4 separate regions of the Homo sapiens genome follow, and regions 1, 2 and 4 are each linked to region 3. The links are contacts of gene promoters, found by promoter capture Hi-C in blood cells and fetal thymus (Javierre and others, 2016). All regions are on one chromosome and are shown on one strand. Each heading gives the region's core, a stretch centred on a gene start or on the middle of the fragment in contact. The rest is flanking DNA. Distances are from core to core; before and after follow the strand shown.

The links. The method cuts DNA at HindIII sites, captures the fragments that hold promoters and counts their contacts. A CHiCAGO score of 5 or more calls a contact.
Region 1: a contact is called between a fragment that was not itself captured here and the fragment with the promoter of PYCARD in region 3, in 1 of 17 cell types (total CD8 T cells). The highest score is 6.0, in total CD8 T cells.
Region 2: a fragment that was not itself captured here is called in contact with the fragment with the promoter of PYCARD in region 3 in 17 of 17 cell types (M0 macrophages, endothelial precursors, M1 macrophages and 14 more); the score reaches 29.9 in M0 macrophages.
Region 4: a contact is called between a fragment that was not itself captured here and the fragment with the promoter of PYCARD in region 3, in 7 of 17 cell types (monocytes, M0 macrophages, M1 macrophages and 4 more). The highest score is 9.0, in monocytes.

Annotation. Positions count from the first base shown.
Region 1 is chr16:30,764,462-30,772,092 of GRCh38, forward strand. RNF40 (ring finger protein 40) reads left to right here. Exons shown (of 20, transcript NM_014771.4): 6 at 477-598; 7 at 720-866; 8 at 964-1,038; 9 at 1,702-1,821; 10 at 1,918-2,097; 11 at 2,280-2,415; 12 at 3,433-3,554; 13 at 3,642-4,069; 14 at 4,158-4,275; 15 at 4,377-4,526; 16 at 4,725-4,937; 17 at 5,014-5,139; 18 at 7,372-7,512; 19 at 7,628-7,631. Among named protein-coding and RNA genes, the nearest start is that of RNF40, 6.0 kb to the left of the region's middle. RefSeq lists an enhancer at 1-317 and a silencer at 4,786-4,982. The HindIII fragment of the contact is 4,024 bases long and covers 1-3,522 here.
Region 2 is chr16:31,457,857-31,465,709 of GRCh38, forward strand. It overlaps ARMC5 (armadillo repeat containing 5), which reads left to right and starts at 1,645. Exons shown (of 6, transcript NM_001105247.2): 1 at 1,645-2,143; 2 at 4,066-4,173; 3 at 4,275-5,061; 4 at 6,538-7,031. The coding sequence starts at 1,669. RefSeq lists enhancers at 1-127, 775-1,315, 1,314-1,653 and a silencer at 1,844-2,193. The HindIII fragment of the contact is 2,362 bases long and covers 621-2,982 here.
Region 3 is chr16:31,197,797-31,205,324 of GRCh38, forward strand. PYCARD (PYD and CARD domain containing) reads right to left here and starts at 4,964. Exons shown (of 3, transcript NM_013258.5): 1 at 4,621-4,964; 2 at 4,351-4,407; 3 at 3,690-4,045. The coding sequence starts at 4,894. The coding sequence ends at 3,789. PYCARD-AS1 (PYCARD antisense RNA 1) reads left to right here and starts at 4,089. Exons shown (of 2, transcript NR_102400.1): 1 at 4,089-4,190; 2 at 4,664-5,656. RefSeq lists enhancers at 3,795-4,425, 4,615-4,844 and a silencer at 4,955-5,314. The HindIII fragment of the contact is 5,508 bases long and covers 637-6,144 here.
Region 4 is chr16:30,935,223-30,942,059 of GRCh38, forward strand. All of the region lies in intron 7 of FBXL19 (F-box and leucine rich repeat protein 19), which reads left to right. Among named protein-coding and RNA genes, the nearest start is that of ORAI3, 10 kb to the right of the region's middle. RefSeq lists an enhancer at 1-200 and a silencer at 6,788-6,837. The HindIII fragment of the contact is 714 bases long and covers 5,214-5,927 here.

The DNA of each region.
Region 1 (7,631 bases), core at 261-2,760, 440 kb before region 3:
AATGCCCGAGTCCAAGGGCGGCCAGAATTTCCCAAGGAATAAATCAGCCATGTTCTTGGAAGAGGTAGGTTAGGCTGTAGATGGGGGTTCCAACTTTGATTCCGGGATTGAATGCTAGAGAGATGGGTTGGAGGAGTTGTTGATGCCGGTAGAGGCTCCTGGCCAGAGGCCCCTCTGGAGCACTTGGTGTGGGTTGCGGATCCACAAGGCATAGCTTCAAGGGCTCAGGCCTTGTAGGTTGACAGGCTTCTCCCACCTTAGTTCTGCCACCCTCACCTGGACATGCTGGGAAAGTGGCTCCCCTCTCTGAGCTGGTTTCCTTCTCTGTGCAGTGGGGATAAAGACTCCTGGCTTTGTCATGAGAAATGGGCAAGACAGCTGGTGGATCACACTGGGTATATAGCAGACTCCAGAATGAGTTAGTTGTTTGCCCCATTGCCCTGAGCTGGGCTCTTACCTGGGCCCTGCCTTCCCAGGGGACAGTGAGCCCCTCAGTGAGGCGGCTCAGGCACACACCCGAGAGCTGGGCCGTGAGAACCGGCGACTGCAGGACTTGGCCACTCAGCTGCAGGAGAAACACCACCGCATCTCATTGGAGGTGAGGAGCCGGGGGCTTTGGGGGTGTGATTAGAATCAGGCAGGATTTGGGTTAGATGGGCACTCAGGGACCTCAGGAACCAAGTCCCCCATCCAAGCATCTGCTCCCTCATTGTTCCCAGTACTCCGAGCTCCAGGATAAAGTGACATCGGCAGAGACCAAGGTGCTGGAGATGGAGACAACAGTGGAGGACTTGCAGTGGGACATCGAGAAGCTGCGGAAGCGAGAGCAAAAGCTCAATAAGCACCTGGCAGAGGCCTTAGAGCAGGTGGGGCAGGGGTGCTGGGGCAGGTGAGGCAAGGCTGGGCCCTTGGGCCTTAGCTCCTCCCCTCTACATCCATTGCCTGTCTGTTTTCTCTCCACAGCTTAACTCTGGCTACTATGTATCTGGGAGCTCCTCAGGCTTCCAGGGGGGCCAGATCACACTCAGCATGCAGAAGGTGAGCGGCGTTTTCCTCCCACCCCTTCTCACAACCTCTTCTCTGTTGCACTCTTGAAATTCCCCTCAGGACAAAGGACAAACATCCATCTCTGAGGCCCTTCCTGGTCACTCCTGCTGCTCTTTTTTTCATGCATTCATATACTTGTTGAGTAGATTTTTGAACACTTAGTGCTAGGCACTAGGCATATTGGCGAGAACAAAATAGAGGTCAAAACTTTCATGGACCAGACAAGAAATAAATAAAAGAATATATCTTTAGGTTCTACTTGTGGTAACAGACAAGAAATCAGTAAAATAGCATATCAGTGTGTTATGAGTACCACAAAGATAAAGCACAGAAGAGAGAGCTAAGAGTGAGTTGGAGTCAGTTGGCATCTGGTGGTCACTGTGCCCTTTTTCCCTTTATTAGCACTTTAGGCCTTTCTGGAATGCCTTCCGTGACTCCCCATCAGTTAAGAGCCTTAGTTCCCAGCACCGACCATGCAGTATTGAATTTTCTCCCATTTTTCTGGGAGCCCTTAGGAAAGTACTTGGTTTGGGGTGTCAGAATCGATCATTGCCCTGCACGGGGTGCTTGGGGTGGAGTGTATGCTGGGGATGTAAGGGAGGCCTGCTGCCACGTCTGGCCCTGCCTCCCATGGCCCTGCCTCCCACTCCTTAGTTTGAGATGCTGAATGCAGAGTTAGAGGAAAACCAGGAACTGGCCAACAGCCGTATGGCAGAGCTGGAGAAACTGCAGGCCGAACTTCAGGGGGCTGTGCGGACCAATGAGCGCCTCAAGGTGGGCTGCTGTAGGGGCTGAGAGGTCCTGGGCCTGTAAGGGAGGGACTGAGCCCTGAATCCTGTTGCTGATCCCATTTGGGCATCCCTGCCCCAGGTGGCCCTGCGGAGCCTTCCTGAGGAGGTAGTGCGGGAGACGGGGGAGTACCGCATGCTGCAGGCCCAATTCTCACTGCTCTACAACGAGTCTCTGCAAGTGAAGACCCAGCTAGACGAGGCTCGGGGCCTGCTGCTGGCCACAAAGAACTCCCACCTGCGACACATCGAGCACATGGAGGTATGGCCCTGGAACAGGCGTTAGGGCTGGGCTAAGGGCCAAACCGTTAGTGTTGACGTGTTTGTGCCTTCCGAGGCCCTGTGTGCCAGCCAGGGGTCCCTGGGGAATAGATTCTTCCTAAGATACTGAGTCCTGAGGTGGGACCGAGGGGCTGTGTGGGTCCTTAACACATCAACCCACAGAGCGACGAGCTGGGGCTGCAGAAGAAGCTACGCACAGAGGTCATTCAGCTGGAGGACACGCTGGCCCAGGTACGCAAGGAGTATGAGATGCTGCGCATCGAGTTTGAGCAGAATCTGGCGGCCAACGAGCAGGCGGGTATGTGGTGAGGATAGGGCGGAGGTGGGGCCTTATCTGGGAGTGCTGGGCCCTGGTGTGGGGCTGCTGCTTATCCAGATGCAAGAGGCTAAGGCCTTTTTTTTCACAGAGCCTCGGCTTCCTATGCAAAACAGGGCCTGCACTGCTTGGCTCCCAGGCACAGTGAGGGTCCGCCAGCTGGGGTGGCTGATGGAGCAGGCACATGCAGAGTCTGAGCTGTCAGCCCTGTCCTCATTCTTCTGGTCTGATGACGTCTCTGTCTCTCAGATACTTGTGTTACAAAGATTTATCAAATGCCACCTCTGAGCCAGGCTCTGTTCTAGGGTTTGGGGTTATGCCAGTGAACAAAACAGAATTCCTGCCATGTGGAGCAACATTCTGATAGAAGACAGACTAGAGGAAGACGAACTAGTAGAAGAAAAATGGAAAATGTGTTAGCTCTTGACAGATAGGAAAGTAAAGCAGAAAAGGAAGATAGGAAGTATCAGGAGAAAGGGTGTTGCAATTTTGAATAGGAGGCCAGGGAAATGTACTGGGAAGGTGATATTTAAGAATCTAGAAGAAGTTAACTAACTTTTGTGAATGTTACAGTTACCTTCTCTATTAAAGGGAATTGGATGTATAAAAAAAAAAAAGAAAAAACCTAGGCCAGGTGTGGTGATTCATGTCTGTAATCCCAGCACTTTCGGAGGCCAAGGTGGGAGGATCACTTGAGGCCAGGAATTTGAGACCAGCCAGGGCAACAAAGTGAGACACTGTTTCTATTTAAAAAAAAAACAAAAAACCCCACATATTCTATATTAGCAAAAATCGTATGAATAGGCAGTGTCAAGTTAATTTTGGGTGAGTTTCCTTGAAGTCAGCATTATTTACTTTGATGAGTTCATGCTCCGTTGAGGCCGCAATGTTCCCCTCCTGCACAGTGGGAGTGATGGCATAGCCTCTTACCCCACTGAGGGGTTGGAGTCCTAACCCAGGAACTGGTTCTGACACCTTTACTTGCTGATGCTCCTCCAGGGCCCATCAACCGTGAGATGCGCCACCTGATTAGTAGTCTTCAAAACCACAACCACCAGCTAAAAGGGGACGCCCAGCGATACAAGCGGAAGCTTCGAGAAGTACAAGCTGAGATTGGCAAGGTGAGAAGGGGCCTGCCTGGGAAAAGGTTTGGCTAGACTCCAGTGAACACCATCTGACTTCATCCCTCTTCCTCTCTGCCTTTGCAGCTCCGGGCCCAGGCCAGTGGCTCTGCCCACTCCACCCCCAACCTGGGCCACCCAGAGGATTCTGGCGTCAGTGCCCCAGCCCCAGGGAAAGAGGAGGGTGGGCCAGGCCCTGTCAGTACCCCCGACAACAGAAAGGAGATGGCTCCAGTGCCTGGCACCACCACTACTACCACTTCAGTGAAGAAGGAGGAGCTGGTCCCCTCTGAAGAGGACTTCCAGGGTATAACCCCTGGGGCCCAGGGCCCTTCCTCCCGGGGCCGAGAACCTGAGGCCAGGCCCAAGCGGGAGCTTCGGGAACGGGAAGGTCCCAGCCTAGGACCTCCACCTGTAGCCTCCGCTCTCTCAAGGGCTGATCGGGAGAAGGCCAAGGTGGAAGAAACCAAGCGGAAGGAATCAGAACTCCTCAAGGGTCTCCGAGCAGAGCTCAAGTGAGGCTCTGTTCCTGTCTCCTTCCTGACCCTGCCAGGTGGCCTCCAGTCCCACTCACTAAGACTTCCTCCTGTACCTTCTTGCCAGGAAGGCCCAGGAGAGCCAGAAGGAGATGAAACTGCTGCTGGATATGTACAAGTCAGCGCCCAAGGAGCAGCGGGATAAGGTGCAGCTCATGGCAGCGGAACGCAAGGCTAAGGCCGAGGTGAGGGCAGCTGGGGCTTGTGGGGCATTCAGAAAGGCAGAGCAGAGTCCTAGCTCAGCAGGAAGCAGTGTCAAGAGAGTTTCTTCTTCCCTGTGCTATAGGTTGATGAGCTGCGGAGCCGCATCCGGGAATTGGAGGAGAGGGATCGAAGGGAGAGCAAGAAGATCGCGGATGAGGATGCCCTGCGGCGCATTCGGCAGGCAGAGGAGCAGATAGAACACCTGCAGCGCAAGCTGGGTGCCACCAAGCAGGTGCGGCCCATGTGGTGCCCTCGCGTCGGAGCGCAGGGAGTTCCCTTCATACCCTGTTTGGTGCCTCTAGTGCCTGCAGGACCTTGATGATCTGGGTCCCCTCTGTAGTTCTTTGCTTCGCTGCGTTTTCCCATGGTTCCCCCACAGCCATCCTGTCCACTTCCCACGTTCCATCTTGTCTCTGCCCACTTGCTGCAGGAGGAGGAGGCTCTGCTCTCAGAGATGGATGTGACAGGTCAGGCTTTTGAGGACATGCAGGAACAGAACGGGCGGCTGCTACAGCAGTTGCGGGAAAAGGATGATGCCAACTTTAAGCTAATGTCAGAGCGGATCAAGGCCAACCAGATTCACAAGCTGCTGCGGGAGGAGAAGGATGAGTTGGGCGAGCAGGTCCTTGGCCTCAAGTCCCAGGTATGGCCGCCGCCAGCTTGCAGACTGGAGCTGGAGAGGTGGGGGTCATGGCCCTGAGTCCTCCTCTGGTCCTTAGGTGGATGCCCAGCTGCTGACTGTGCAGAAGCTAGAGGAGAAGGAGCGAGCCTTGCAGGGCAGCCTCGGGGGTGTGGAGAAGGAGCTGACGCTGCGCAGCCAAGCCCTGGAGCTCAACAAGCGGAAGGTGAGGCTGGGCCAGGGGGACACACAGCTTGGGCTGCTGGCTCACCTCCTCACCTTCCGGTTCTGCTCAGAGCACCCGATGCAATAGCCTGAGGTGAAGCCAGGCTGTCACAGAACAGCTCACACATATTGAACATTTACATGTGCCAGACCACATGCTGAGTACTTGACATGCTTGGTCACATTTCAGTCTCACTAATCCTATCAAGATGGTGTTTACGGGCGTGGTGGCTCACGTCTGTGATCCCAACACTTTGGGAAACAGAGGCGGGAGGTTTGCTTGAGGCCAGGAGTTGGAGACCAGCCTGGGCAACATAGTGAGACCCCATCTCTACAAAAAAATTTTAAAATTAGCTGGGTGTGCTGGTGCACGCCTGTAGTCCCAGCTTCTCGAGCAGGCTGACAGGTGAGAGGATCACTTGAACCCAGGAGGTTGAGGCTGCAGTGAGCTATGATCGCACTGCACTGCAGTCTGGGTGACAAGAGCGAGACTCTGTCCCTAGGGAAAAAAAACAAAAGATTTTTGAGTTGGAGTCTTGTTCTGTCGCCCGGGCTGGAGTGCAGTGGTGCGATCTCGGCTCACTGCAACCTCCGCCTCCCAGGTTCAAGCAACTCTCCCAACCTCAGCCTCTCAAGTAGCTGGGATTACAGGCGCGCACCACCACGCCTGGCTAATTTTTGTATTTTTTTTTAGTAGAGACAGGGTTTCGCCATGTTGACCAGGCTGGTATCGAACTCCTGACCTTGTGATCCACCCACATTGGCCTCCCAAAGTGCTGGGGTTACAGCGTGAGCCACTGCACCTGGCTGGATTTTGTTTTTAGCCTCGTTTTATAAATAAGGAAACTGAGGCTCAGGGAGGTGGATTGTTCTGCTCAAGAGGGAGTGGCCCTAATATTTGGGTCCAAGCCTCCTTGACTCCAGGCTCTACCTTCTAACCACTCGCTGGTGAACTGTAAAGTGGGGATGATGTTCTTTGTCACATAGTTGTATTAAATAGAAGAAATGTCTAGCTTTGGCTAAAGGCTTAAGATTAACATTGATTTCCATTTCCTCTGAAGCTGTTTTCTTCTCCAGTTAGTTCATTCATTTAAGCAGTATGTTTGTGGTTTTTTTGTTGTTGTTTTTTTTAGACGGAGTCTAGCTCTGTTGCCCAGGCTGGAGTACAGTGGCTCGGTCTCAGTTCACTGCAACCTCCGCCTCCCAGGTTCAAGCGATTCTTCTGCCTTAGTGTCCCGAGTAGCTGGGACTACAGGAGCCTGCCACCTCGCCCAGCTAATTTTTGTATTTTTAGTAGAGACGGGGTTTCACTGTGTTTGCCAGGCTGGTCTCAAACTCCTGACATCGTGATTTGCCCGCCTTGGCCTCCCAAAGTGTTGGGATTACAAGTGTGAGCCACTGTGCTTGGCCCATTTAAGCAGCATATTTTACATCCCTGCTATGTACTAGGCCTTGCGCTGATTGCTGTGGAGACATTGGGAACAAGAAGGTCCCTGCCTTCCAGTCAAAGCTGGAACTTCAGGTCTTGGCAGGCAGAGCAGGCCAGTAATCCCCCAAATAAAATAGTGCATGTCACAGTAAGCCTTGTGCAGGAATCTGAGGTGCTGTCAAAGAAAAATAGGGGAGCCTTTTAGGAGGTGACACTTGAGCTGAGGCCCAGGGGAGCTGCATGTGTGGTGGGGAAGTTGAGGGGAGCAGAGAGGAGAGCCTTGTGAAAGCTCAAAAACCAGACAGCAGGCCAGGCGTGGTGGCTCACGACTGTAATCCCAGCACTTTGGGAGGCCGAGGCGGGCAGATCATGAGGTCAGGAGATCTAGACCATCCTGGCTAACACGGTGAAACCCCATCTCTACTAAAAATACAAAAAATTAGCTGGGTGTGGTGGTGGGCGCCTATAGTCCCAGCTACTCGGGAGGCTGAGGCAGGAGAATGGTGTGAACCCAGGAGTCGGAGGTTGCAGTGAGCTGAGATCGTGTCACTGGACTCCAGCGTGGGGGACAGAGTAAGACTCCGTCTCAAAAAAACAAAAAACAAAGAAACCCCAAAAAACAGCATCACACGGGAGGAACTGGAGAGGGAGAACAGGAGGGGAGGGCTTAGGGCTCAGGAGGCAGGAGCAGCTCCAGGGCAGGTGTCACTGGGGCCCTGGACAGAAGCATTGGTGGGCCGTGACTCCACATGCCTGAGTCACCAGGCTCAGACCAGTGCCTCCTTCCTGTTCCACCCTACTCAGGCTGTAGAAGCCGCCCAGCTGGCCGAGGACCTGAAGGTGCAGCTGGAGCACGTGCAGACTCGGCTGCGGGAGATCCAGCCCTGCCTGGCAGAGAGCCGGGCTGCTCGTGAGAAAGAGAGCTTCAACCTCAAGAGGGCTCAGGTGTGTGCAGGGGTGAGGGGCCAGGCCAGGGTGGTCCACGGTCACGGACCTATCCTGGGGGCAAGCGGCTCAAGGTTGAGGACCCTTGCCCTTAGCCAGGCCTCTCCTGCCCCAGGAGG
Region 2 (7,853 bases), core at 552-3,051, 260 kb after region 3:
CTAAGGGAGCAGAAGGGGGTCTGCTTAGAGATCCTGGTTCCTTCCATTTCCTTGAAGTCCGAACCAAAGTCAGAGCTGAAGTTTCAGCTAAAATTGAAGCCAGGGCTATTTGCAGAGGCTGCCGCCCTAGTGCGTCCGCTGGTGCTGGCCCAGGTTGGAGCTTTGCGCTAGGGCCCTGCCACACTGCAGGCAGACGCAGGGGTGCTGCTGTGGGCCGCCTAGTGGATGGGCAGGTGGGAGCTGTGGCCGAAGGTCTGGCCACACTCACCACCAAGCATCAGGTTTCCGGACTTTGTGACTGTGCTGGTGCCGCAGCAGATTCCAACTGTGCACAAAACTCTTACTACAAACAAGGCACTTAGAGGCCTTCTCACCCATGTGGAGCGCAGGTGCTGCAACAGGGTGGAGCCAAGGCTGAGACTCTTGCCGCAGTCCCCTCAGCGGTAAGGCTTTTAGCGGTGTGAGCGCGCTGGTGCTGGATCAGGTTGGAGCTGACGCTGAAAGTCTTACCACACTAGGCACAGGCATAGGGCCGAAGCGATGGTCACACTCGGGGCAGGAGTACGGCTTTTCACCGGTGTGTACCCAGTGGTGCTTAACCAGATCAGAGCCACATCGGAAGCTTCTGCCATAACCCGGACAACGGTAAGGCTTGTCACCAGAGGGGCTGCCTTGGTGGTGAATGAAGCCGGGGAGGCAGGCTGTGGTCAGTCCACATTTCCGGCACTCGCAGGTTTTGGGGCTTGTAGACGGTTGCTCTTGGCAAAGGCTTCTTCCTCCCCAGGGCTAGAGCCTGACCATTTTCCGGGCGGGCAGCTGCCCCGACCACACCAGGAAGGGCTGCTCAGGCGGAGCCACCTCGCAATCCAGGGGTGACCTGGGGGCTCCCCGGGACGCGAATGTCCCGCTCCCCCGCCGCCCCGCCCCGTCCGGATTCTCCCTCGCCTCTTCTGGCGCGGCCGACTGCGCTGCGAGTGAAGAACTCCCCGTTTCCTAGATGCCAGCTCCTGAGCTCACGAGCACGTCCAGAGCGGAGGACACTCGGGACACCGGGGTCCAGCTCCGGAAACGGAAAATTCCACAAGCCCGTCACTCTAGGAAGCGGCAGCGAACGTTCTCGGTAGGTTTAACCCTCTTCTTCCTCTGACCGAGCGAGGGCTCCCCGTCTGCGGCGCGGTCAGGACCCCGCACTTTCGGCCCGGCTCGGGGTTCTCGGAGTCCGTCCCAAGGCCGGGCCGCACCACCGCTGGGGGGCAGCGAAGCGAGCCTAGAGGAGAAAAGGCGGTCCCCGCCGAGTGCACGCCGGGGGCGGGGCACGGCACGAAGGCTCCGTGGTCGGACTTCTGGGCTGTTCGGAGGCCCTGGCCCACCTGGAGGGCCCTGGAAGAGTTTCCAGCGCTTCCCGAGGTAGGCGTGAGAAGCTCGACGCGGACCACATCTCCCTCATGCACCGCCCGCACGTCCCAGGATGCGCTGCGATTAAGGTACTGCCGCGCCTCGTGTGCAAGGACAGACTTCCGGGGTCGAGAACTACAACTTCCGACTTGCATCACTGCGGTGGCGCTAAACAGCGTCAGCGAGGCGGTGCCCGACGATTTCCCTGTCTTCCAGTTCCGCTCCCTGGGATCAGCGGCGAGAAGCGGGGCGGAGTCTGAGGCCCGAGCCAAGATGGCGGCTGCGAAGCCAACCCTCACGGACTCGCTCTCGTTCTGCCTCGCGCAGCTCGCGGCGGCGGCCGGGGAGGCTCTGGGTGGGGAAAAGGACCCAGCGACCAACGAGACACCCCTGAGCCGCGCGCTCCTAGCCCTCCGCACGCGCCACATCAAGGCAGCGGGGGGAATCGAGCGCTTCCGGGCACGCGGCGGGCTCCGCCCCCTACTCGCGCTGCTACGGCGAGCGGCTGCAGCGGGTTCCGCCCCGTCCCAGGCAGGCCCCGGCTCCGCCCCCTCGTCGGCCGCGTCGGGAGCTTCTAGCCCCGCCCCCGCGTCGGGCCCCGCCCCCTCCGCTGTGTCGTCGTCTAGTCCTACGCCGCCAGTGCGCCTGCGCAAGACGCTGGACTTGGCGCTCAGCATCCTAGCCGATTGCTGTACGGAAGGGGCGTGCCGGACCGAAGTGCGCAGACTCGGAGGCATACTCCCTTTGGGTAAGTGCTCCGCCCCCGTTTCCTAGAAAGATTAGGTTTGCAACTCCCTTGCTCTCTAGACCCGGGCAGTCTGGAGTTCTTTGTGTCCTATCCCGGAATAACGTGCTTTGTGATGGCGCATCGCTCCTGTTTCTCAATCTGTTGTGCCCCGTGACGTCACTGCACTCTCTATAGATGAGAGAGAGCCCTCCCAGACCAGATAATTGTAGCCATTATCTAGGAATTGGTTGTTGAGGACTTCTTTCGAAGCTGGACTAGCGGAGGCCAAAGAGTTATTTGGTGATTTTTTCAGATGATTCTTACCGTCCAGTTATGATGTTCATAGCAGACATTCAGTGCCCAACTATGTGTCCGGCCCTGTGCAAGGTTCTGAAGCCCCACTGATGAGCTGGAAGGTGTAGTGGTTCAGAAAGGGAGATCTGCAAAAGTCACCTAACCCCTCCGAGGCTAGGATTCCTTGTAAAATGGGGCAATAATAGCTACCTAAAAAAATCAGAGTGGGGAGAAAACGAAGTACAAATATGGCACGAATATGCAAATATTCTAAGCATGATACGTATTTCAAGTTATTAAAAACTAGCATAAGCTGGGTGCAGTGGTACGCGCCTGTAGTTCCAGCTATTTGGGAGGCTGAGGCGGGAGGATCCCTTGAGCCTAGGAGGTTGAGGCTGCAGTGAACAATGACTGCCTGTGAATAGCCACTGCATTCCAGCCTGGGCAACGTAACAAGACCTCGTATCTTAGAAAACCAAACAAATCAGTAGTCGCTTAGGAAGCAGGAAAAAATAAATAAAAATAATTAAAACCAGCACAGTAAGAACAAATCCTAGCAAAACATAAGCTTTTCTGTTTACCAGCTAAATTGGTGCCTCCTAGTGGCAATGTGTGAAAGCAGTTTACATGTCACTACCTGCCTTCCACGAAATTATGCTAGTTTTGATGACATCTTAACTTTTCGGATAAAGGGAAGCATTAATATATTTAAAATTTACATAAAATGTATCTGGACCATATATGTTTGACAAGAGCTTTGGTTATTAAATAACCCCCATCATTCAGCTACTATTTTTCATCTTAAATATCTTCTGAATTTATCTGCTTCTCTCTCTTCCTACTTCCATTGTGTGCCCAGAGACTGGTATCTCTGTGCTGTGTGATGCCAGTAGCTGGGTTGGTTCAAGCTATTGTCTTTTCATGCTTGGACTATTATGACAGCCTTTTGACTCCCCCCTTCCTATTCTTTCCCCATAATGCATTCTCCCTATGGATGTCAGATTGTATCGTGTCACTCCCCTTCATAAAACCCTTGTGTGGCCCCCAGTGCCTTCACATTCAAGTCCTGACCCCTTGGCCTGACATTTGAAGCCTTTCACAGACACTGTATCTTACCTCTGGGCCTTTGGAAAGGCTGCTTCCAAACCTGAAATGCCTTCTCACACCCCCATCCACCGTGCTTCTGGCAAATACCTTCCTGTGTACCCCTCCAGACCCAGCCCGAGTGTTAGCCTCTTTCTTTTTATTTTTTTGAGATGGAGTCTTGCTCTGTCATCCAGGCTGGAGTGCAGTGACACGATCTCAGCTTACTGCAACCTCTGCCTCCTGGGTTCAAGCAATTCTCCTGCCACAGCCTCCCGGGTAGCTGGGATTACAGGCGTGTACCACCATGCCCAGATAATTTTTGTATTTTTAGTAGAGATGGGGTTTGGCCCCGTTGGCCAGGCTGGTCTTGAACTCCTGACCTCAAGTGACCCACCCACCTTGGTCCCCCAAAGTGCTAGGATTACAGGCTTGAGCCACGGTGCCCTGCCGACCATTAGCCTCTTCTGAAAGCCTTCCAGGCCCTCTCAGGCCACATTCTCCAGGTTATTGATGTGAGAGACAGTAAGGGGTAGAACCCTCACAAGCCCAAACTGTCGTTGCAGTGACCATTCTTCAGTGCATGAAGACAGACAGCATCCAGAACCGAACGGCCCGTGCCCTGGGGAACTTAGCCATGGAACCTGAGAGCTGTGGGGACATCCACTGTGCTGGTAAGAGGCTGTGAGGTTGGGGTCTGCTAGGGCTTGGGGCAGAAGAAAGGCTTGAGTGTCTGTCCTTGTTCACCCTCTGTGCTCCCCTTTCCTGCCCTCAGGTGCTGTTCCCCTGCTTGTGGAGAGCCTGACAGCCTGCCAGGACTCGCAGTGCCTACAGAGCGTGGTGCGTGCCCTCCGTAACCTGGCAGACTCACCCCAGCACCGCCTGGCCTTGGCACAGCAGGGAGCAGTGCGTCCGCTGGCCGAGCTCCTGGCCACTGCCCCAGATGCTGCACTGACCTTAGCCCTCGTCCGTGCCCTCCTGGAACTCAGCCGAGGCTGCTCCCGGGCCTGTGCTGAGCAGCTAAGTCTGGGTGGGGGATTGGGCCCACTCGTCAGCCTGGCTTCCCACCCCAAGCGGGCAGTACGCGAGGGAACCATTCTGATCCTCGCCAACCTGTGTGCCCAGGGCCTGATTCGGCCTGCACTGGGCAATGCTGGTGGCGTGGAGGTGCTGGTAGATGAGCTCCGGCAGCGCCGGGATCCTAATGGAGCTAGCCCAACCTCCCAGCAGCCCCTGGTGCGGGCTGTGTGCCTCCTATGTCGTGAGGCCATCAACCGGGCCCGACTGCGGGATGCTGGTGGCTTGGATCTACTGATGGGCCTGCTGCGGGACCCTCGTGCAAGCGCATGGCACCCTCGTATTGTGGCTGCCCTTGTGGGGTTTCTGTATGACACTGGGGCCCTGGGCCGGCTGCAGGCTCTGGGACTTGTGCCTCTCCTGGCTGGGCAGCTGTGTGGTGAGGCTGGTGAGGAGGAAGAAGAGGGAAGAGAAGCTGCTTCCTGGGACTTTCCTGAGGAGAGGACCCCTGAGCGGGCACAGGGTGGAAGCTTCCGGAGCCTCAGGTGAGTCCCTGCCTCAGGGCTTGGGAGGGTGAGCAGTGCAGTGATGTGGGGTTTGTGTCTGTCTTGGTCCTCTTCACTACCTCCACCCCTATTCTGTCTGAATAAGACTTTTATAACCCAGACTCCTGATTCCCACACGACCACCTGCCAGTTCCTATTTAACACACTCCACTCCCCTGAGTCTACCTTTTTTTTTTTCGAGACAGAGTCTCACTCTGTCACCTAGGCTGGAATGCAGTGGTGCCATCTCCACTCACTGCAACCTCTACCTCCTTGGTTCAAGCAGTTCTCCTGCCTCAGCCTCCCGAGTAGCTGGGATTACAGGTGCCGGCCACCACTCCCAGCTAATTTTTGTATTTTTAATAGAGACAAGGTTTCACCATGTTGGCCAGCCTGGTCTCGAACTCCTGACCTCAGGTGATCCACCCGCCTCAGCCTCCTAAAGTCCTGGGATTACAGGCATGAGCCACTGCACTGGCTGGATCTACCTTTTAACCTTGGTTCCACGCCAGCACCTTTGAACTTTGGGCCCCAGACAAGTTCACTGGGAGGTGGGATATACGCTGGTTAAGATGGTGGGCTCTGGAGTCCAAGTTCTTACTCTCTTACCATCACTCATGAGCTGAAGCATCACAGGAAAGCTGAGGAACTCTTTATTTTTTTTTAAACATTAGCGTTGGGGATCTCGCTTTGTTGCCCAGGCTGGTCTTGAACTCTTGGCTTCCAGTGACCCTCCTGGCTCAGCCTCCCAAAGTGTAGGGATTACAGATGTGAGCCACCATGCCCAGCCCCCAGCGCTTCCTATTTCCTTTTTATTTTCTCCATGACCCCTGTACTCTACACTAGCCCCACACTAACATAACTCATGGTACTCTTACTTCTTGTCTGCTTCTTCTCACTGGAACATAAACTCCAGGGGGACAGGCACTTTGTTCAGTGCTTCTACCCAGCACCTAAAGAACGGCTTGGCACGTGACAGGCATCAGTAATTACTGAATGAGGTTTTAGTCGTATCCCCCTCTCACTTCCGTTTCTCCCCTTTCTCCGCCCTCCTTCTCTCCCCTGGCTTTACCTCCCTCCAAGACAGCTTTTAGCTCATGCAGTGGCTCACGCCTGTAATCCTAGCACCTTGGGAGGCCAAGGCAGGAGGATCGCTTGAGCACAGGAGTCCGAGACCAGCCTGGGCAACATAGCGAGACCCATCTCTACAAAACATTTAAAAAATTAGCTGAGTGTGGTGCACACAGCTGTAGTGCCAGCTACTTGGGAGGCTGAGGTGGGAGGATCACTTGAGCTCAGGAGTTCAAGGCTGCAGTGAGCTAGGATCCCACAACTGCATTCCAGCCTGGGCTATAGAGGGATACCACATTTCTTTAAAAAAAAAAAAAAAAAAAAAAAAGACGCCTCACGCCTCTTGGACTCTGCCCCTTAACCTTGGCTCTGGGTTCAGTCTCCTTCCCTTTCTGCCCTCCGCAGGTCGTGGCTGATCTCCGAGGGCTATGCCACAGGCCCTGATGACATCTCCCCCGACTGGTCTCCTGAGCAGTGTCCGCCGGAGCCCATGGAGCCGGCCAGCCCCGCCCCGACCCCGACCTCGCTGCGGGCACCACGCACCCAACGCACTCCGGGCCGCAGCCCCGCCGCCGCCATCGAGGAGCCTTGGGGACGCGAAGGGCCAGCCCTGCTGCTGCTGTCGCGCTTTTCCCAGGCCCCTGACCCAAGTGGGGCACTTGTGACCGGCCCGGCGCTGTACGGCCTGCTGACCTATGTGACCGGCGCACCGGGCCCGCCCAGCCCACGTGCACTGCGCATTCTGTCACGCCTCACCTGCAACCCTGCCTGCCTCGAGGCCTTCGTGCGCAGCTATGGCGCGGCGCTGCTGCGGGCCTGGCTGGTGCTGGGGGTGGCGCCTGACGATTGGCCGGCACCACGTGCCCGGCCCACTCTCCACAGCCGGCACCGAGAGCTGGGTGAGTTCCCATACCCACCCGTCTCCTTGCCCCCATGTGAGTCCCCATCCTCCCCCATGGCTTCCATGGGCCCAGAACCTCACCTTCCCACTCACCTGTCCTCCCCAGCCCGTCCTCCAGACAACCTGTCACCAGAGTGGGGTGGGGAGCAGGGCGTTCCAGTCCCTCCATGGGCCCACAGGCAGAGTTCTGCTGTGTCCTCTGCCCTAGCCCTGGGACCCAGATACCCTAACTCTAGATGCAGCCCCGCGCCCAGGATCTGGGCTGGTCTGTGCTTCTTTCCTGGCTCTGCCATTGGTTCAGCACTGTCCTGACTGCTCCCCACCAGCACGCTGACCTGTGAACCCCAGCCTCACCATCACCCCCAGCACTGCCAGGGACTGCCCTGTCTGCTGTGCCCTGACCACAGGCTGCTTCATGGCGTTACTGCTAGACCAAGGAGCCCTTCTGCTGGCCCTGTCCGGGCATAACAGAAGGCTCGCACTCTTGTCTTCTGGTCACACCTCACTATGTCCCCTCAGCTCCTATCTCTGTATGGCCTGGTTTTTCCCAGGTTATGATTATAGAGCGAGGATTATTACAATATTGGGATAAAGAGTAATTACTACAAACTAATGATTAATGATATTCATATATCTCTAAGATCTATATCTGGTATAACTATTCTTGTTTTATATTGTATTATACTGGAACAGCTCGTGTCCTCCGTCTCTTGCCTCGGCGCCTGGGTGGCTTGCCGCCCACACTTCAGGGGCCCAGACTTACACCCTGACTGTCCCACCTTCTGTCCTTGTCCTGGACCTCAGGTTCCCAGCGTCCCGA
Region 3 (7,528 bases), core at 3,714-6,213:
TTGAGGCTGCAGTGAGCTGTGTTCCCACCACTGCACTCCAGCCCGCAGGCCTGGGAAACAGAACAAGACTGTCCCCCTGCCCTCCCCGCAAAGCATTTCTGACAGGCTTTCTGGTGATAATGATGCTGTTGGTTCAACACCTCTCAGAGTAACGTTCTAGAGTTTGGCAGAGTCAAATTATTTCTGAAGGGGAACTTTGTACAAAACTTTCATCTTTCTCCCTCTCTCACCCCCCTGTTTTATTTTTTTGAGACAGGGTCTTGCTCTGTGGCCCAAGCTGGAGTGCAGTAGCATGATCACAGCTCACTGCAACCTCCAATTCCTGGGCTCAAGTAATTCTCCCACCTCAGCCACGGTGGCTCGGACTACAGGCATGAACCACCATGTCCAGCTAATTTTAAAAATTATTTTGTGGAGATGAGGTCTCACTGTGTTGTTCAGGCTGGTCTTAAACTCTTGAGCTCAAGCAATCCTCTCTGCTCGGCGTCCCTAAGTGCTAGGATTATATTTCTATATAAAATGCTGGCTAGGAGCTAAGGAAAAGGAAGACAGGGCCCTGCGTGTGGGTTTTTGTAATTAGCAGAGGCCCAGTCAACACTGGCTTCTGTTCTGTTTTTTTTTTTTTAAGTCTTGTGAAGCTTAAATGGGAGGTTTGAGCAAAAAAGAGGATGCTGTCCTCTTTGTGGGATTTTTGCTGGTGTGGGGAGATCTGGACCATCATGGAGGGAGTTCTCAGCACAGGGATGGGATTTGGTTCCTGCAGGGCCTCAGAGAAGCATGGGAAAGCCCTTCAGGTGTTAGGGGAAGGTGATTTTGAGTTGTTCCTTCACTTTGTTGAATGTCTCTGAAATCCAGTTCTGGGGCTTGGCAGGAATGTTGCCGCTTGCAGTGGCTGCCGTTCAGCTTATCTGGGATGTGTCCCAAGATGCTGGAGTTGTCTGGGGCCATCCAGACTGGGGCTGGGATTTCCACACCCATGGAGCCACGACTAGGACTGGGAGTGACAGAACGAGTTTGGGGGTGCTGCCAGAGGGGCACTCTAGATTGTTCTTGGGATAGCACAGGTTCCCAGATACAGTTCTAAGCCATTGAGGGGCTAGGAGCAGAATCGTCTTAGTGGAGGTGATTGCTAACTCTGAGGTGTACTTGCCATGAGCCAGTTGCTGTTAGGGGATGAGCTGATTCCTGTCACTCCCACTTTAGAGGGGATGCTGACACAGCTAGTGAGAGGTGGGGCAGGGACTTGAACCTCTATTCTTTAGCTATAGAACTTCTGTCCTTAACCACTATGCTATGCCTAAAATCTGAGGAGACTTCTGGTAGGACTCTTTCTCCCACAGCCCAAAGGAAAAAGGAAGCCCCAAGAAATGTTTTATCTTAGGGAAACTTTCTTGGAACCACTTCCTTCCCTCAGGCCTGCACTGGTTTTTGTAGTGACTCTAAGGATGTCTGTCATGCAAGGATGTGTTACCTATGGCCCCATGTCAGGAGAATGATTAGGTTCCTGTGAAGTTTAAAAAAAATCCTGTTAGATACTAGAGATACACAGTAACTGCCATATATTACTTTCTACATGCAAGGCACTTGTACAGAGGTTGAAAAGATGTCTCCATTTAAGCGTCCATTTAAGCAGGGGAGTGGTGGAGTCTTCTGTGAAGGTAGACCAGCACATGGTTTGCATTGCCACAGAGACACTGGGAAGAGCCTCTGAAACCCAGAGGAACGCATGCGTATGGGCAGTCTGGGGCAGGTAGAAGATGTCAAGGTGTCCAGAGATAAAGGGGTCAGCATGTGCAAGGGCACCTGGTATGAGCAGATAGTGGTGGGATCGTGGGTATGTGAGGAGAGGAGAGGTTGCATGGGGTTAAGTGCCAGGTTAGGAGGAGAGTTTAGGTGTCCTGTTAAAAATGACAGTCAGCTGGGCATGGTGGTATGCACCTGTAGTCCCGGCTATTCAGGAGGCTGAGGCTGGAGGATTGCTTGAGCCCAGGGGTTTGAGGCTGCAGTGAACCATGATCACACCACTGCACACCAGCCAGAGCAACAGATGAGATCCCGTCTCAAAAAAAGTGAGAGTCTGTTCCCATGATCAGTTTGGATTTCTCAGGCTCTTGGAGCTAGAGGCAGGGAGGACAAGGTAGGAGGTGTGTTGCAGATAAGATGTAATTAGAGATAAGCCTGGTGGGGCAGTGAGGTTGGAAAGTGGTTGTTTGGTGATTCCTAAGGATAGGATTCAGGGTCTCCTTGGTATCTGCCCATTGCTTTGCAAATCCTCCCTCTTCAAGGCCAGAAAGGATTGCTTGTAAAGTGTACTTAGGAAGTAGCCCTAGATTCCTGCTTTCCCAAACAGCCTCTGGAAAGACCTCAAGTTTCCTGGAGAGAGATACTCATATTTCCCTTTGTAGGCAAAAATTGCATCAAGAAGGTGGGCCCGGTGGCTCACACCTGTAATCCCAGCACTTTGGGCGGCTGAGGTGGATGGATCACTGGAGGTCAGGTGTTTGAGACCAGCCTGGGCAACGTGGCAAAATCCCGTTTCTACTAAAAATGCGAAAATTAACCGGGTGGGGTGGCAAGCACCTGTAATTCCAGTTACTTGACTGGCTGAGCCACAAGAATTGCTTGAACCTGGGAGGCAGAGGTTGCGGTGAGCTGAGATCATGCTACTGCACTCCAGCCTGGGTGACAGAGTGAGCCTCCGTCTCAAAAAAAAAAAAAGAAAAAAGTGGCCGGGTGCATTGGCTCACGCCTGTAATTCCAGCACCCCAGCACTTTGGGAGGTGGAGGCGGGTGGACCACTTGAGGTCCGAAGTTCCAGACCAGCCTGGCTGACATGGTGAAACTTTGTTTCTACTAAAAACACAAAAACTAGCCAGGTGTGGTGGCAGGGGCCTGTAATCCCAGCTATTCGGGAGGCTGAGGCACAAGAATAGCTTGAACCTGGGAGGTGGAGGTTGCAGTGAGCTGAGGTCACGCCACTGCACTCCAGTCTGGGTGACACAGCGAGATTCCATCTCAAAAAAAAAGTTTTAAATGTTCCTTTCAAATGAATGAATAAGTAATAACCCTCCAAAAAAATCGCATCAAGAAAAGAGGCAGCTACCACACACAACTCATTTCCTGAAAATCTGCTTTGGTGGTTGGCATGTTTTTTGAGCAAAGTGCAACCTATGACCCTTTCCCCCACGGGATGGGGTGGGGCAGAGGGAGCCTTTAAGCCTGTTAAGAGCCAGCACCAGAAGGAGCCCTCGAGCAATTTGGTGACTTGTGCTCTTCTGTCCTATGTTTAGATAATGCTCTAATGTGTCTCCCCCTGCAAATTTCTCTAATTCTGCATTTTTCTCCAGTGGAAAATGTGGAAGGTAGGGGAGCTATGAAGACTAGTGTGTTTCTAAATGGCTTGGACAGAGCTGCCCACCAGTTTGCGCCCTTTGGTACATGCCTCTTTTAACCTTCGGACCTGGGTCACAGGCTGTTATCTATAATGGTAAGGTTAGACCCTTTAGGGAGCACTGGAGGAGCACCACCTGGTGAATGAGGAGGGATATTCCATGGCGATACCAGGAAGGATGGGGGAAGCATTTGGGGTGCCAGAGACCCTAGGGACATGGAGCTGGAGGCTGGGTGGCCTCTGAAGCATAGCTGAGCTCTGCACATGCCAGCAGGCTAGAAGCAGGAAAACACACAAGTTCAAGCTGGCTTTTCGTATATTGTGTATAAAAAGATCAGATTCAGGATGATTTGGTGGGATTGCCAGGGGCTGACCGGAGTGTTGCTGGGAAGGAGCCTCAGCTCCGCTCCAGGTCCTCCACCAGGTAGGACTGGGACTCCCTTAGGGCCTGGAGGAGCAAGTCCTTGCAGGTCCAGTTCCAGGCTGGTGTGAAACTGAAGAGCTTCCGCATCTTGCTTGGGTTGGTGGGCTCGGCCCGCACTGCCTGGTACTGCTCATCCGTCAGGACCTTCCCGTACAGAGCATCCAGCAGCCACTCAACGTTTGTGACCCTCGCGATAAGCGCAGCCCGGTGCTGGTCTATAAAGTGCAGGCCTGGGGGTGGGAGGAGAACATGAGCCAGCAGCCAGGGTGTGGGGCCTGTCCCTGCTGAACTTGAGTTCTTCAGGAATTCCTCTGCAAGCCTAGGGGCAGGGCTCCAGGGGGCGGCCACCAGGACCCCACATGCAGTGGGATGAGGGTAATATTGTCTCCCTTCCCCCGCAGGGTGTGGGTTGGTGGGTGGGGTGCGCAGGGTTGCCAAGCCGTGCCTGCCCTGCCCTGCCCTGCCCTGGTTGCGGGAGCACAGATGCAGGCTGTGCAGGAGTGCGGTGGGGCCGGGCTGGGTGTGGAGGCCTCACCTGGCTTGGCTGCCGACTGAGGAGGGGCCTGGATCCCAGCTGGCGCGGCTCCAGAGCCTGGAAGGATATGGGCCAAGTGATCCCCTTCCCTTCCCTTCCCGCCGTGGGGCCGGGGTCCCGTTGGTCGGTAGGCCAAGCGTGGGGAGCCTCCTTTCCGGTAGAGCAGCTTTGTTTAGGGGTAGGAGGAACAGAAAGCGGAAGAGCCCGCGGGGTAAGCGCTGGTGTGGGTGGAGGGGAAAGACGGGGTGGAGGGGAACGGGGGCGGCTCACCCTGGTGCGTGGCCGCCTGCAGCTGCCCGGCCATCTCCTGCAGGCCCATGTCGCGCAGCACGTTAGCGGTGAGCTCGGCGCCGTAGGTCTCCAGGTAGAAGCTGACCAGCTTGTCGGTGAGGTCCAAGGCGTCCATGGACAGCAGCGCGCCCCGCGGGATGCGCCCGTAGCCCTCGCGCAGCGGCACCGACAGCAGCTTCAGCTTGAACTTCTTGAGCTCCTCGGCGGTCAGGTTCTCCAGCGCATCCAGGATGGCGTCGCGCGCGCGCCCCATGGCTCCAGGATCCCCGGCCGCTGCCGCCGCTCACCCCGCTGCAGCCGCCGACCAGGAGGAAGTCGGCTCCGGGGCGGAACCTGGACTCCCCGCCTTCCTCCCACTCTGGTCTCCCGACTCCCCGCCCCGGTCCGTTGCCCTCCAGCAAAAGGCGCTTCCTTACTACACCCTTGGTCCCCTCCCACCCAGGCCTCTGGATTGGGGCCCCAGGCCGTCGGGGGACGCCAGGATCGCGCCCTCCAGCTGGCCTGCGAGGTGGGACCCGGGAGGGGGCCGCAGAGGGGCTCATGGGTGGCGCCTGCTTGTCTCTGGGCTTGCACCAGCGGGTACAGACCGGAAACCTGGGCTGGCTCTCACTGGGTTTATTGGAGCACCTAGGCTTAGAACCTCGGATTTCTAGAACCCCGAAACCTCCGCGGTTCCCCGAACCTTAGGATCCTCTCCCACATGTCGTAGAATCTTGGAATCATGACAGCTAGAAGCGTGAAGCTCCCTCAATTCCACATACTGGGGAAAAATGAGTTGTACAAAAGGGCAGAGAGTGCAAATCTCTCTGAGCTTCAGTTTCATTTTCTACGACATGGGGATAACCCTCCGGTGCTTATAAATATTCCAGCATAACATGGCCAACCCGATGGCTCCCGAAACCTTGCCAGATGCTTCCTAGGGGAGCCAGAATTTGATCCCAACACTGATTAAAAAAAAGAAAAAAGAAAGAGAGACAGCCTCCAGGAGATTAAAGACCATGAACTTGAAGCCATACAGTTCTTTGTTTGAATCCTGACTCTACTTCCCAAGGGGGATATTTGGAATCCTTTATTTTTCCCTCTCATCTGGGTTGTAACAATCACTGTTCCTTGTAGTCATACGACCCTGACATATTATACGTTTATATGCTTATTGGACATTCATCCCTCTCTAAAATGTGAGGCCTATGAGCATCGGAGACCTTAACTGTCTTATTCTTTGCTGAATTCCTAGCGTCAAGAATGTACCTGGAAATAGCTGTGTGTGGTGGAGGGCGCCTGTAATCCTAGCTACTAGGGCGGCTGAGGCATGAGAATCGCTTGAACCTCGGAGGCAGAGGCTACAGTGAGCCAAGATTGCACCACTGCACTCCAGCCTGGGTGACAGAGCTAGATTCCATCTGAAAAAAAAAAATGTATCTGGAACACATTAGGTGCTGAGTAAAGATTTGCTGAGTGAAGGAATGAATGAGGCTGTGATGCCTGCAGCATGTTGTATTCAAAAGCTTCCAGCATGGCTGGGTGCAGTGGCTCATCACGCATGTCATCTCAGTGCTTTGGGAGGCTGAGGCCGGAGGGTCACTTGAGCCCAGGAGGTTGAGGGTGCAGTGAGCTATGATTGTGCCACTGCACTCTGTGCCACTCGGCAACAGACACCTTGTCTCAAAAACAAACAAGACAACCAGGATGGGCCGGGCACGGTGACTCATGCCTGTAATCCCAGCATTTTGGGAGGGCGAGGTGGGTGATCAGGAGTTTGAGACCAGCCTGGCCAACAGAGTGAAACCCCATCTCTACTAAAAATACAAAAATTAGCCGGGCGTGGTGGCAGGTGCCTGTAATCCCAGCTACTGGGGAGGCTGAGGCAGGAGAATCGCCTGAACCCGTGAGGTGGAGGTTGCAGTGAGCTGAGATCACACCATTGCACTTCAGCCTGGGCAACAAGAGCGAAACTCCATCTCAAAACAGGAACAAAAACAAACAAACAAAAACCACGATGGGGAGCAGTGCTCTGCTACCCTGCTGAAAGCCTTTTTGTTGTTGTTGTTGTTGTTGTTTGTTTTTTCTTTTGAAGACAGGACCTCACTCTGTTGCCCAGGCTGGAGTACACCGGAGGGATTGTGGCTCACTGCAGCCTTGAACTCCTGGGCTCAAGCAATTCTCTCACCTCGGCCTCCTGAGTACCTGCGACTACAGTTGTGCCACCATGCCTGGCTAGTTTTTAAAATTTTTATAGAGAATGGGTTTCCCTATGTTGTTCAGGCTGGTCTCAAAGTCCTGGGCTCAGCAGTCCTCCTGCCTTGGCCTCCCAACATGCTAGGATTACAGGTGTGAGCCACTGTGCCTGGCCTTGCTCCCCATCCTTGTAGCATGTGGGCTGGGGTAAGCTGTGTGCCAACATCCTCACCATGGGTGGCACTTGTGGTCCAACAGCCAGTGTTCCTTGGCTCATGGATGTTTATCATGCCTTCTCACTGGCCTTTATCCTTCCAGAATCTCCATTTCCTTTTGTGCACTGTGGCCAGAAGGATACATCTTCCTAACCCACACATATGATCCTGCACCTGCCTGGCTCAGAGACCCCCTCATGACTCCCCAGTGCCCTCAAACTCAAGTCCCAAGCCCTTGGCTTGGCCTTCAAGGTCCTTGCCAACCTCTTCAGCTGCCCCTTCCAGCTTGCTGATCCGTGAACCTCCGCCCCTGTGGGAGCTGCTCTCTGCTTGGCCTCTTTTTCCTCCTGGTCTACTTGGTGAGTTCCTGCCTGTCTTCTGACGTTCATCAGGCATCACTTTTTCTTTTCTGCTTTTATTTTAGAGATGAGGTCTCACTCTGTTGCCCAAGCTGGAGTGCAGTGCGCAATCATAGCTCATTGTAGCCTCGAACTCCT
Region 4 (6,837 bases), core at 4,321-6,820, 260 kb before region 3:
CTGTTGTGTTCCTGGTGTCTAATGGCACCTGGCGGACAGTGGGCAGTGAGATCATCTTCGCTGAATGAGTGAAGGACAAGAGAGCAGGATGCAGTGTGGAAGGATGTACAGAGGGTGGCGCTGGAGAGGCGTGTGTAGGGGACAGCAGGAGGCTGCAGGCTTTCCTGTCTGGTGGCTTCCATCTTTTCTTGGAACTGAAAGGGAAGTGATCCCTTAAGAGTGAAGAGTGAAGAGTGGAGAGAGGGCAGCAGGGAAGGCGTGCAGGGGTTATTGAGATGCAAGGAAGAGGGTTGGGGCTTTTGAGGACATGGACAGAGAGAAGGCAGCAAGGAAGGGACTGGAATACAAGGTGATCATGGTCGGGTAGGGTCTGGAGGTGGACAGATTGGAGGGCAGTGGTAGCATCGGGGCCCAGAGAGCTACAAGAGGTCGGAACTGGCAGTGCTTGGAGCCCTAGGGGCCGTGAGCCTTCAGAGGGCAGTAAGGGCTGGTCCAGCTCCCTGTTCCCGGGGGCTTCTGCAAGAGGGAGGGTTAGGATTGGAATTGAGGGTTTGCAGGTCGGCCTAGTAGGAGAGGACTCATTGCGGGGTGGCTGGAGTCCAGGAGGAAGTGAATGGGTTAGGGGACTTTGGCATCAAGCCACATGTCTCTGGGACGACGGCACACCTTGGCTCTTAGAGCTTTCCCTGCCTCTTGTCTCAGTGTCATTCTCCAGCTTAGAAAGAACCCACCTGTGGCTCCCTGTCGCCCTCACAACAGACGCCCACCATCGCAGTCCTGTTGGACATATGGACATGAACTGGGCCTACCGACTGCACCAACCACTTCCCTGAGCTGTGTCCCTTCCTTGTCACAGCAACCTCTGAAGGAAGCGCTGTTCTTCACCCCACTGTACAGTTTGGGAAATGGAAGCCCACACAGGGCGAGTGACTTGCCTGAGGCCCCCCAAAGCCTGGAGGTGGCAGAGCTGGGATTTAGATCCCCATAGCTCACATCCTCAGCTCTGGGCTCTGTGACCATGATAGTCTATGGCCTGGCATTCCAGCCCTCCTTGACATGACACCCATCCCTCCTTTGCAGCTCCACTCTTGCCTCTTCTCTCCTCAGAATTCAGGCTTTCCACCCAGACGGGCTAGGTGGAACCCCGCCTCTACTACCTACCACTTGGTAGTTGTGGGACCTTGAATACATTTCTCAACCTTTCTGGGCCTCATTTTTTTTTTTTTTTTTGAGACGGAGTCTCACTCTGTCACCCAGGCTGGCGACAATCTCGGCTCACTGCAAGCTCCGCCTCCCGGATTCACGCCATTCTCCTGCCTCAGCCTCCTGAGTAACTGGGACTACAGGTGCCTGCCACCACGCCTGGCTAATTTTTTTTCTTTTTTTTTTTTTTTTTTTGTTTTTTAGTAGAGACGGGGTTTCACCATGTTAGCCAGGATGGTCTCGACCTCCTGACCTCATGATCCACCTGCCTCAGCCTCCCAAAGTGCTGGGATTACAGGCGTGAGCCAGCGCGCCCGACCTTTTTTTTTTTTTTTGAGGCAGAGTCTGACTCTGTTACCCAGGCTGGAGTGGAATGCTGTGGTCTCGGCTCACTGCAACCTCTGCCTCCTGGGTTCAAGTGATTCTCCTGCCTCAGCCTCCTGAGTAGCTGGGACTGCAGGCGCGTGCCACCACACCCAGCTAATTTTTGTATTTTTAGTAGAGACGAGGTTTCACTATGTTGGCCAGGCTGGTCTTGAACTCCTGACCTCGTGATCCGCCCTCCTTGGCCTCCCAAAGTGCTGGGATTAACAGGCGTGAGCCACCGCACACGCTTGCCTCATTTTCTTTACTGTAGAAAGGAGATGATGATGGTAATGTTGACCTCCTAGGGCTGGCGTGAGGTTCAGTGCTTAATGCATGGGACAGTGCCTGGCACACAGTGAACCCTGGATGATGGCTGGTTAGTAGTGCTGAAGTCACTGTGATCAGCGTGACTCTGGTTATGATGATGAGTTCCTGTGGCCTGGGGTTTCCAGAGCTCTCCGTCTTGTCTCTTGTGGGCCTGGACACAGGTTCTTGCCCATCTGGAACACACACCCTCCTCCCCCTCCCCTTGCTGAAATAACTACTGCTTTCCTCGGAGTCTCAGGTCAGGCATTGTCCCCCCAGGAGGCTCCCCCACCCAGTCCTTGAGGTGACTCTTACCATGCCCCTTGTCACCTCAGTTACTGCGGACTGTCCATGTCTCCCTGACTGTATGGCAGGAACCTGTCATCTTTGCCTCCTCCGTGCCCAGTGGAAGCCAGATACTTGGGATCAGTAGGGCCCTCAGTGACTGTTGGTTGTCCCTCTGAGGTTTAACCCCAGTGTCCTGGTTGTACAAGAGCAGGGGGACTGATGAGCTGTAGCCAAGGAAGGTGTGGGAGACTTCCTGGAAGAGGAGGCACTGGAGCCGAGCCACGAAGGCTCTGGGTTGGCATTTCTGGCAGAGGCACAGCATGTGCCACAACGTGTTGGCATCAGACAGCACTGTGTCTATAGGTGGGCAGGTGTGTGGCCTGGCTGTTGTGGAGTATGATACAGAAACACAACTGGGGTCCTGTGGGTGCCCCCAGGGAAAGGGGCTTCCTTCCAGCTGTGGACCGTGGAAGGGAAGTGGCTTCAAGGAAGTGGTGACAGTTAAGCTGGGAGGCAGTCGTGGCAGGGTCACAGTGGGCAGAGAGAGGTTTTGGATAGAGCAGATGTCACCGATTTTCTTGCTCACAGAAAGAGCAAAGGGGCAGGACCTAGGGGTAGAAGCTGGGTCGGGCATGAGTTGGTTTTTTTCCTTTTCATGTTTTGAATTGGAGAGATTTGCAGATGTTTATTAGTTGAGAGGAAGGAATCAGGAGAGGGAGAGGCTAGAATGCCAGAAAAGCAGGATGAGGGTAGGAGGGAACAGGAGAGCGAGTGGCAGAGGGGTGAAGGTGTTCGGACTGAAGCCTTGGTGTCTGTGCCCTCAGCCTTCTCTAAAACGTCACACCAGGGCTGGGCCCAGTGGCTCACGCCTGTAATCCCAGCACTTTGGGAGGCTGAGGCAGGAGAATTGCTTGAGCCCAGGGGTTCAAGACAAGCTTGGGCAACATAGTGAGACCCCCATCTCTATTAAAAAAGAAAAAATTAGCTAAGCATACCTGTGGTCCCAGCCACATGGGAGGCTGAGGCAAGGGGATCACTTGAGCCCAGGAGTTTGAGGCTGCAGTGAGCTATGATTGCATCACTGAGCTCTAGCCTGGGCGACAGTGAGACTTTGTCTGAAAAAAATAATGAAATGACACACTGGGCCTCTGGAGTAGGTCTGGCATTTTTCAGTGACACAAAAATATGGCTTAATCCCTCTGTGAGTTTTGGAAAGGAAGTCTTTCCATTGGAAGGAAGTCTCTCCATCGGGTGCTTTTTTTCTTTTTTGAGATGGAGTCTTGCTCTGTCGCCCAGGCTGGAGTGCAGTGGTGCAGTCTCGGCTCACTGCCAGCTCCGCCTCCTGGGTTCACGCCATTCTCCTGCCTCAGCCTCCTGAGTAGCTGGGACTACAGGCGCCTGCCACCACGCCCGGCTAATCTTTTGTATTTTTAGCAGATACGAGGTTTCACCGTATTAGCCAGGATGGTCTCCATCTCCTGATCTCGTGATCCGCCTGCCTCGGCCTCCCAAAGTGCTGGGATTACAGGCGTGAGCCACTGCGCCTGGCCACTATTGGGTGCTTTTTCTAACACTTCTCTGATACTTATCTCCCTGTTTAACAAAAGTAGTCTTCAGGTAGTAGCCTAAAGCCACAGCAACACCTGGCTAGGATTTAATAACTCTGGTCTTTTTTGTGTTTTATTTATTTATTTATTTATTTTTGAGACAGAGTCTCGCTCTGTCACCCAGGCTGGAGTGCAGTGGCGCAATCTCGGCTTACTGCAAGCTCCGCCTCCCAGGTTCATGCCATTCTCCTGCCTTAGCCTCCCAAGTAGCTGGGACTACAGGTGCCCGCCACCACGCCCGGCTAATTTTTTGTATTTTTAGTAGAGATGGGGTTTCACCGTGTTAGCCAGGATGGTCTCAATCTCCTGACCTCGTGATCTGTCCACCTTGGCCTCCCAAAGTGCTGGGATTACACCACACTTGGACTTTTGTGTTTATTTTTAAGATTAACATATTTATGTGAAACAATACTGGGGTTTTTTTTTTTGTTTTTTTTTTGAGACGGAGTCTCGCTCTGTCGCCCAGGCTGGAGTGCAGTGGCACGATCTCGGCTCACTGCAAGCTCCACCTCCCAGATTCACGCCATTCTCCTGCCTCAGCCTCCCGAGTATCTGGGACTACAGGCGCCCTCCACCACGCCCAGCTAATTTTTTGTATTTTTTTTTTAGTAGAGACGGGGTTTCACTGTGTTAGCCTGGATGGTCTTGATCTCCTGACCTAGTGATCCACCCACCTCGGCCTCCCAAAGTGCTGGGATTACACGCATGAGCCACCGCGCCCGGCAACAATACTGGTTTTAAGTGCAAAGAGGAGATGATTCAAAGATAAATCATGTTACGCAGATAAGTGAACAGCAAATACTGGAGCTTGGGAATCACTGCCCCAGCCCAGGGCTTCTACAAGGAAAAGCCTTTCAGAGTCATGAGGGCAGGGAGGGAGGCAAGAGAAAGCTTCCCTTGGGAGGCCAAGGGAAGGATCGCTTGAGCTCAGGAGTTCAAAACCAGCCTGGACAACCTTGTCTCTACTAAAAATAAAAAAATAGGCCAGGCACAGTGGCTCACGCCTGTAATCCCAGCACTATGGGAGGCCAAAGTGGGCAGATCACCTGAGGTCAGGATTTCGAGACCAGCCTGGCCAACATGGAGAAACCCTATCTCTACTAAAAATACAAAAAATTAGCCGGGCGTGGTGGCGCATGCCTGTAATCCCAGCTACTCTGGAGGCTGAGGCGGGAGAATCGCTTGAACTTGGGAGATGGTGGTTTCAGTGAGCCAAGATCACACCATTGCACTCCAGCCTGGGCAACAAGAGCGAAACTCTGTCTCAAAAAAAAAAAAAAAGTCAGGTGTGGTGGCATGTGCCTGTAGTCCCAGCTACTCAGGAGGCTGAGGTAGGAGGATGGCTTGAGCCCAGGAGTTTAAGGTTGCAGTGAGCTGTGATCGCAGTACTGCACCCCAGCCTGGGTGACTAAGCAAGACACTGTCTCAAGAAAAAAAAAAAAAAGCTTCCTGGGCCTGCTGCTTCTGACACAGTCTATTGAGTCTCAGAGGCATTTCTGGACATGCCTTTGAGAACTACTGAACTCAGAGAAGAGAGTTCTCAAACTGAGTCCAAAGGAACTTCAGTGTACTACAAAATGTTACTAGATTACCTTGGGAGAGGTGGGGAAGGATTCCTGGGGAAGTACGTTTGAGAGGCCCTTCTCCAGTTCACTGCATGTTTTTTGTTTGTTTGTTTGTTTGTTTGTTTTTGAGATGGAGTCTCTCACTGTTGCCCCAGCTGGTGTGCAGTGGTGCGATCTCGGCTCGCTGCAATCTCCGCCTCCCGGGTTCAAGTAATTCTCCTGCCTCAGCCTCCCGAGTAGCTAGGATTACAGGCGCCCGCCACCATGCCCAGCTAATTTTTTGTACTTTTAGTAGAGACAGGGTTTCACTAGTAGAACAGCCAGGCTGTTCTCGAATTCCTGACCTCATGATCCACCCACCTCGGCCTCCCAAAGTGCTGGGATTACAGGTGTGAGCCACTGCACCCAGCCCACTGCATGTTAGATAGTCTGTTGAGGCCTGTGGAGTGCTCGGGTTAGGAAACCTGTTTAATGTTGCTTAGGACTCGTTCATCTTTGTAGCTTCAATACTTGGGACCTATAACGCTTTCTATAATCAGAGTGAATAAATGAAATGCTGTAGATGAGGAGGTGGGGGAGAGTGGTCAGTGGAAGCTTTAAGTAGTTACTAGCTTGATTCATTCATTACAAATGGGCAGCTGGGTGCAGTAGCTCATGCCTGTAATCCCAGTGTTTTGGGAGGCCAAGGCAGGAGGATCGCTTGAGGCCAGGAGATCAAGACCAGCCTAGGCAACATAGTGAGACCCTGTCTCTACAAAAAAATTGTTTAAAAATTAGCCAGGCGTGGTGACATGTGCCTGTGGTCCCAGCTACTCAGGAGGCTGAGGTGGGAGGATTGCTTGAGCCCAGTAGGTTGAGGCTGCGGTGAGCCTGAGTCCAGCCTGGGTTACAGAGTGAGACCCTGTCTCAAAAAAAATTTTTTTTCAAAAAGTGGAAAACGCAAATCTGCCCTTGTGGAATTTACATTGTAGTTGGAGGAACACAGTAATGTAATAGGGAAGATATTAGGGCTGTAAGTCCAGCTGCGGGCAGCTGGCTGTCAAGATGGGACAGGTGTGGATCAGAAGCAGAGATGAGTAAAGGAGGCAAGGACCCATGAGCACCAGAACTCAGTCAGGAATCAAGAAGCCCAAGGGTGGCTGGAGACGACTGGATAACACCAGTCCCCTTGGCATGACATCAGGCAGCATGCGTGGCATTTGTGTATGTGTTGGGCAGCACACTTTCTATGCTGGGAGGCCCACAGCTGGGATGAGCCCATGTGACCTGACAGCTGCCCTGTGGGCAGGCAGAGTGGGGGGGCTATTGCCTTCAATCATAAACGAGGCTTCTGAGGCTCAGGGAGAGGAACAGACTTGCCCAGGGTCTCATTTCCAGTTAGTGATGGAGTTGGGTTCCAATCCCAGTGCTCTTGGCTGAGGTCAGGTGCTTCTTGCTACCCTGTTGTCTGTGTGGCCAGAAGAGAGCTGGGGTGCACCCTTGGAGCTGGGGAGCCTGGGAAC